Regions from separate parts of the Homo sapiens genome. Here region 2 is linked to region 1. Evidence: promoter capture Hi-C in 16 types of primary human blood cells and fetal thymus (Javierre and others, 2016). All regions are on one chromosome and are shown on one strand. Each heading gives the region's core, a stretch centred on a gene start or on the middle of the fragment in contact. The rest is flanking DNA. Distances are from core to core; before and after follow the strand shown.

What was found. The method cuts DNA at HindIII sites, captures the fragments that hold promoters and counts their contacts. A CHiCAGO score of 5 or more calls a contact.
Region 2: a contact is called between a fragment that was not itself captured here and the fragment with the promoter of FLACC1 in region 1, in 1 of 17 cell types (naive CD8 T cells). The highest score is 5.1, in naive CD8 T cells.

The regions. Positions count from the first base shown.
Region 1 is chr2:201,355,426-201,359,512 of GRCh38, forward strand. It overlaps FLACC1 (flagellum associated containing coiled-coil domains 1), which reads right to left and starts at 1,920. Exons shown (of 15, transcript NM_001127391.3): 1 at 1,557-1,920. The HindIII fragment of the contact is 10,294 bases long and covers 1-4,087 here.
Region 2 is chr2:202,174,656-202,178,742 of GRCh38, forward strand. All of the region lies in intron 15 of KIAA2012, which reads left to right. Among named protein-coding and RNA genes, the nearest start is that of KIAA2012-AS1, 60 kb to the left of the region's middle. The HindIII fragment of the contact is 6,218 bases long and covers 1-4,087 here.

The DNA.
Region 1 (4,087 bases), core at 670-3,169:
ATTGTATGGGTGATACAATCACTCAGTGGAGTTTTACATAGATTTTCAATGATCTTTGATGAATGTGTAGTTGTTTCCTTTTCCTCTTTCCCATGATAAACAATGTCTTGGTATATATTCTTTTGCTCTTAAGAAAAAAAAAAAAGAAGGCCTCACAGGTGTGGTGGCACATGTCTGTAATCCCAACACTTTGAGAGACTGAGGTGGGAGAGTCGCTTGAGGCTAGGAGTTTGAGACCAGCCTGGGAAACATATCGAGACTCTGTATCTACAAAAAATTTTAAAAATAGCCTAGTATGGTGGAGTGTGCCTGTAGTCCCAGCCACTTGGCAGGTGGTGCGGGAGGATCACTTGAGGCCAGGAGTTTGAAGTTGCAGTGAGCTAGGACCACACCACTGCATTTCAGCCTGGGTGACAGCACAAGACCCTGTCTCTAAAAAATAAATAAATAAATAAAATAAAAATAAAGGCCTTTTTCTTTGAACACCCATGGGAGTGATACTCAAAATATTTAACAACCAGTAAGACAAGGCTATTGAATAATCAACCAGGGTTGGAACAGGGTCCTGGGAGATCTCACTCCCACCTCCATGCCAGGCATTAACCCCTTAGTTGCTGAATCATGAGGTGGTCTGGGGGTGCCAGGGGAGGAGTTGGGACAACCAAGGTGGCAAGGAGGACATGCAAGGGGCTTGGACAATGGTCATCTACCAATCAATATGACAGTATTTTATTTATTATTATTATTGTTTTGAGACGGAGTTTTGCTCTTGTTGCCTAGGCTGGAGTGCAATGGTGTGGTCTTGGCTCACTGCAACCTCTACCTCCGAGGTTCAAGCGATTCTCCTGCCTCAGCTTCCCCAGTAGCTGGAATTACAGGCACCCGCCACCATGCCTGGCTAATTTTTGTATTTTTATAACGATGGGGTTTCACCATATTGGCCAGGCTGGTCTCAAACTCCTGACTTCAGGTGATCCACCCATCTCAGCCTCCCAAAGTGCTGGGATTACAGGTGTGAGCTACCGTGCCCTGCCTATATGGCAGTATTTTAATATTTCAGTAGCTAAAATCAGCCCTTGACTTCTCATAGCTTCTTAAGTGGGAACTACTTCTAACAGATTTTTGGGGCATCCTTCCAGAAATGTTGTGAGTGCATATAACCTTAAATGTTTTGCATATAGAACTTAACCTGTAGAGAAGCATAATAGATTTTTTAAATTATTTGCATAAGTGAGAGCATACTTTGCACACAATGTTGCATCTTGTTCTTTTTGTGTAACAGGATATCTAGTTGATATTTCCATGTCATCACAGATAGATCTGCATTTACAGTGGCTTGACATCATATAGCTCTAATTATAGAGGGGTGTGTGAGTGTGTGTAAGGATTTTTTCTCCCCCTTTTTTCCCTTTCCTGCACTTCTACCTGATGATTTTACCTGAGGCTTGCCCTAACAATAGTCACCAGTGAGCCGGCAGAGGCTTCAGAGAAGTTACTGGTTAGTATTAATAATCAGTAGAAAAAATAATATAAAACATCTTTTCCAAAGAGCTTACCTTGGACTGCCCAAAGATCTGTTATTCTCATGTGGCCCAAGTCAAACATCTTAAAGAAACCACCATGTTAGAGAGAAATGGTTCCCCATCAACACAGAATCAGAGTTTACTTTAGATCAAAAGCCACTTTAGTGGCCATTCCAAGTGGTTGAAATGCCGAAGGAGAAAATTCACAGTATATGTACTGCGGGAAGACAGACTTCTAGTGAATCCAATCAAAGGCTTTTACAAAGGCTGGCCTGGCACAAACATGAATTTCCCTTCTAAAGACAAAACAGTTGAAGTTTCTCAGTATTGCAATGAAATTAAACTAGAGGAGAAGGTCACCCCACCATTCAGATTCCTGTGACTTGGGCCTGAGTTGTGAGGTTTGCCCTTGGGAGATGGCAGGCCAAAGTTTGTTTATTTTGTTGCTATGGACACAGAACAGTAGCTCCTCATTGGCTCAGGGCTCTTTTCTTCAAGAGAGAAGGTTGGGAGAAACAGCCAATTAAATTCTCCAAGACACAAATCAGTGACCACCCTCAACAGCAAAGAATTCATACTTTTAACACTGGATTTCCACTTTCGTCATCAGTCATGGGACAAAAAAGTTTAAGATATATCTTCAGAGGAAATAGAATTCAACAGCACTTTTAGGCTTCATTGGTCTATGGCAATAGTTACCAGGCAGGATCTGTGATGGATTTTTAATTCCTCTGTGATCTACTCACAGAAACCTAAAACTCTAGACACTTTTTTCCCTCGAGTTTAAGGCTTTGAAATCTGTGAAAGTAAAAATCCCCCAAGGCAGGAATCTTTTGCAGTCACAAGGTTTTCCGATTTTTTTTTTTAAATAAAGCTGCTTTTTCTTACTATAGAAAAAAGTACTTGCTTATTACAACCCAGTGGCTTTCATTTTAGTTTTACTGCCACTCATTATAAGAAATACATTTTACAAATTTTGTAATAAAAAAATTTCATGAAATAATACTCTTATTATTTGCTATTCTCTTCTATTTCTTTTTCTTCTTTAAATTAAAGCTGATTATAATCCACTAGATTGATTTCATGATCCTGGTGGGTCACAACCCCTAGCTTACAAAATATTGTTATAAATTCATCTATTCACTCAACTTCACATTTGTTGTCTACTGTGTGCCAGGCACTATTGCTAGGTGTGGGGATATACCTCAGTTCTTATACTCAATACAACTTAGAGACCAATGAGAAAACAGACAATAAAAAAGCTCAATAAAAGCATAATTAATTTTTTTTTCCTTTGAGACAGTAGCTCACTCTGTTACCCAGGCTGCGGTGCAGTGGCAGTGGCAGTGCAGGCTGCATGCATAGCTCACTGCAGCCTTGACCTCCTGGACTCAAGCGATCCTTCTGCCTCAGACTCCCAAGTAGATGGGACTACACAGGTGCACAGCACCATGCCCAGCTAATTTTTTTTTTTTTTTTTTTTTTTGAGACGGAGTCTCGCTCTGTCACCCAGGCTGGAGTGCAGTGGCGGGATCTCGGCTCACTGCAAGCTCCGCCTCCCGGGTTCACGCCATTCTCCTGCCTCAGCCTCCCAAGTAGCTGGGACTACAGGCGCCCGCCACTACGCCCGGCTAATTTTTTTGTATTTTTAGTAGAGACGGGGTTTCACCGTTTTAGCCGGGATGGTCTCGATCTCCTGACCTCGTGATCCGCCCGCCTCGGCCTCCCAAAGTGCTGGGATTACAGGCGTGAGCCACTGCGCCCGGCCGCCCAGCTAATTTTTTTGACTTTTAGTATACATGAGGCCTTGCTATGTTGTCCAGGCTGGTCTTGTACTCCTGAATTCAAGTGATCCTCCTGCTTCGGCCTCCCAAAGTGCTGGGATTACAGGTGTAAGTCACCATGCAGCCACAATGACTCATATTGAGACTTGCCAGAAGCAGTGGGAGTTCATAGCAGGAGTTACTCTTCTAGTCCAGTGAGTCAGGCAGCAGTGTTAAACAGAGAAGAGATCTGACTAGATCTACATATCAGAAAGATCATTCTGACTGCAATATAGGGAAGCAATTGGAAGGGCCAGGAAAACCAGGTAAAAGTCTGTGGCAGTGGTCGTCATGGGACCTGACGATGGCCCTGACTGAGGAGCAGCAGTGGGGATGGAGAGAAGACATGATAGAACTTGGTGATTGACTGGATGCTGGGATGAGCGAAAAGGAGAAGGTGATGATTCCTGGCTTTCCAGCTCGAGCAATTGAGTTGACCGTGGTGCCATTTATTGAGATAGGAAAGTGTGGAGGGATAAACAGGTTCTAGGGAGCAGATTATTAGTTCAGTTTTGGATATGTTGAGGTGCAGGGAGACTAATAGACAAGTGGTGACGTCTGTTAGAGTTTCTTACATATTTTAGAAGTTCAGAGGAAGATTCTGGCCTAGAAGCAGATTTAGGAGTCTTCAGAGTGGATACTATTCCAAGCCAAGGGAGCGAGTGAGATCACATATAGAGAGAGTATTGTGTAAGGAGAGAAGAGGGTCTAGAACAGAGCTCTGAGGACACCAGTATTTAC
Region 2 (4,087 bases), core at 870-3,369, 820 kb after region 1:
TATACCCATCTCTTGGCCAGTGTTGTTCACCTGTATCTCCAACTCCTTTCTCTCTCCCATGTTATTTTGAAACAAATTTTAGGCTCATATCATTTTATTCATATATACTTGAGAACATATCTCTCAAAGATGAGAAATGACTTTTTTTATTATTATTATACTTTAAGTTTTAGGGTACATGTGCACAATGTGCAGGTTAGTTACATATGTATACATGTGCCATGCTGGTGCGCTGCACCGAGAAATGACTTTTAACATAATCATGATACCATTATTACACCCAAAATTTAAATAATTCTTTAATATAATTGAATATTCAGTCAGTTTTCAAAGTTCAAATTGTCCCATAATTATTATAATTGTTTTGGAATTTGCAAACCAACTGTTTACAATTGGTTGATATGACCTTTAAATCTCATTGAATTTATAAGTTCCCTTCCATTTCTTTTTTTTCCCCCTTTTAGTGTATTTGTAGGAAATTGGGTCACTTGTCTTGTTGAGTTTCAATCTAGACTTTGCTGATTGCGTCCTCATAGTGTAGTTTAACATGTTTCTCTGTCTTCCACATGTCCTGTAAGTTAACACTTGGGTCTAGAAACTTGATCAGATTCCGGTTTGGTTTGGTTTTTCCTTTTGGCAGTCTATAAATTCAGTGCAATTTCAATTTTAAAAATCCCCAACAGGGTTTTTGGCAGAACATGATTAGCTGATATTAAAATTCATATAGAAAAGCCAGAAATAGTTGTCATGGTCTGAATGTTTGTGTCCCCCAAAAATTCACATGCTGAAACCTCATCACCAATGTAAAGGTATTTGGAGGTTGGGCCTCTGGGAGGTGATTAAGTCATGAGGGCAGAGCCCTCATAAATGAGATTAGTGCCTTTACAAAAGAGGCCCCAGAGAGCTATCTTGCCCCTTTTATCATGTGAGGACACAAAAGAAGGTGCCCTCCATGAACCAGAAAGTGAGACTTCCCCAGACACTGAATGTCCCCAGACACTGAATGTTCCAGCACCTTGATCTTGAACTTTCCAGCCTCTAGACCCACAAGAAATAAATTTCTGTTGTTTCTAAGCTACCCAGTTTATGGTATTTTGTTATAGCAGCCTGAACAGACTAAGATATTAGCCAGTATAATTTTGAAAAAAAATAAAGTGGAAGTTTGCCCTGACAAATATAAAAACTTATTTTAAAGCTGTAAAAAATAAAACTGTGTGCTATTGGCTTAGAGACAGACAGAAGAGAATAGAGAATCCAGAAATAAATGTGCCCACATATGGAAACTTGATATATGGCAATGGCATTATAAAGGGAAATAGTGGAGAAAGGATGATCTATTATTCACTATATAATTTTGAGACAACTGGTTATGCAATTTTAAAATTCTCACCTCACAAAATATCAGGTGTATTCAGGAGCTTAATGTCAAAAAGCAAAATTTAACTTTTAGAGGAAAATATAGCAGAATATTTTTATGAATTTTGGAAAGGAAAAAACTTTTTACCTATTATTCATAACACAAACCATAAAGAAAATTATTGATAAATCTTTTTTTTTTTTTTGGGACGGAGTCTCGCTCTATTGCCCAGAAAGTGCAATGGCATGATCTTGGCTCACTGCAACCTCTGTCCCCTGGGTTCAAGCGATTCTGCTGCCTCAGCCTTCCAAGTAGCTGGGATTACAGGTGTGTGCCACCAGGCCCGGCTAATTTTTGTATTTTTAGTAGAGACAGGGTTTCACCATGTTGGCCAGGCTGGTCTCAAATTCCTGAACTCAAGTGATCAGCCTGCCTTGGCCTCCCAAAGTGCTGGGATTACAGGTGTGAGCCACTGTGCCCCGCCAATGAATCTGACTATATTAAAGTTTGAAGTTTTCAACAAGACAACATGAAGTTAAAAGCCAAATTGCAGATTAGAAGGAGATACCTGCAATGCATGTAACCAACAAAGCATTAGTAACCAAAATGCAGCAGCATTTCTTCCCTCTACAAATAGGGAAAGAAAAAGACAATCAACCCAAAGGAAAAATGAGCAAATGATGTGAACAGGCAACTAACAGAAGAAGAAACACAAATAAATGGCCATAGAGAAAAAAAAGTTCTCCTTACTAATCAGGAAAATCCCAGTTAAAACAAAAAGATATCATTTCATATATATCAGACCAGCAAAAGTTTAAAAGTCTATAAACACTATTAATGAGGATATAAAGTTTTAGTAATTTAGAGCAATTTGAAAATATTCAATAAATTGAAGATGCATATATCCTGCATCCCAACAAGTTCATTCCCAGGTATCCTTTAGAGAAAGCATGTATGAACAGTGACTCACCTAAAAAGGTTCATTGAAACATTATTAATAATCATAAACAATTGGAAATAATCAAAATGGCCACCAATAGTAAAATGGATTTTTAAATGGTCACATATTTATACAACGGAATACTATATGATAGCTGAAAATAAAATTACATGTATTAATATGGGTTAATCCCAAAAGACTTATTAAGGGTTTTTTGCCTTATTAAGCAAAATAAGGCAAGTTGAACAAGTTACATAAATAATATCATTTATGTAAAGTTTTAATTTGTAAAAAATACTATATATTGTTTACATGTGCATGTATATGTAATACAGATATAAAAATATATATGAGGATTGATGAATATCAAATTGAAGAGACTGATTACCTCTGGGAGGGAGAGGGAAATGGGATTATATGTGTCTTAATCCATTTTGTGATGCTATAACAGAATGCCTGAGATTGGGTAATTTATGAAGAACAGAACAGTCTCCCACAGTTCTGGAGGCTGAGAAGCCCAAGATCAAGATGCAGGTTTCTTACTGTGTCCTCACGTGGTGGGAGGCAAAAAGGCAAAAGAGAGGGAACTCATTCCCACAAGCCCTTTTTCTTTTTTTAGAGATGGGGTCTCTCTATGTTGCCCAGGCTCAACCTGAATTCCTGGACTCACACTATCCACAGCCTCAGTGTCCCGAGTAGCTGAGACTACAGGTGTGCATCACTGTGCCCAGCCCACAAACCCTTTTTATAGCAGCATTAATCCATTCATGAGGATGGAGCCCTCCATGACCTAAACACTTTTTATTAAGCCCCACCTCCCAACACTGCTGCATTGAATATTGATTGAGTTTCCAACACACAAATTTTGAAGGAGACGATAACATTCACACCATAGTAGCATGTGATAAATGAAGTCTTGGACTGTGTCTTAAATGTTTGATTTCTTTAGAAAATGCATGACTTAGGCTGGGCACAGTGGCTCATGCCTGTAATCCCAGCACTTTGGGAGGCCAAGGCAGGCAGATCACTTGAGTTCAGGAATTTGAGACCAGCCTGGCCAACATGGTGAAACCCTGTCTGTAGTAAAAATACAAAAATAAGCTGAGCATGGTGGCGTACACCTGTAATCCCAGCTACTTGGGAGGCTGAGGCAGGAGAATTGCTTGAACCTAGGAGGTGGAGGTTGCAGTGAGCTGAGATGGTGCCATTGCACTCCATCCTGGGCAACAGAGTGAGACTCTGTCTCAGAAAAAGAAAGAAAGAAAGAAAGAAATGCATGACTCAAATATGGCAAAATGTTAAAATTTTACAAAACTAAGTGGCAATGAGTATACAGTATTTTTCCTATACTGTGAACGCTTAAGATATTTTATAGACTTTTAAAAAGTACTTAAAAGTTGTAAGTTATTCAAAGCACTGACTTCGTTTGTTCCAATACTTCCTAAATATCAGGTTATTTTACTAAGAGAAAAAAAAAATCACCCTTCTATGGCCCACATCCCAAAACTGGGAAGGTTTCAATTCTAATCACAATGGAAGTTTCACCAATGTACAACCTCAGCTTTTGGTCAATACAAATACGCCCTCTGCTGGTTCTATCATGCCCTGTCCCAGAGTTCAAAATAGTTGAGAAGAGCAGTGAAAGTCTTCAGTGAGAGTTTTTTCGCGCCAGTCATGTTAAGGAAAGAAATACTCACAGAACTACCCTTTGGCACCAAGATACTTTAATCAGCTTCTGCTCTCTGTTAATGTTACATATTATCCAAGACAAAATAAATTCCAAGGTGCAG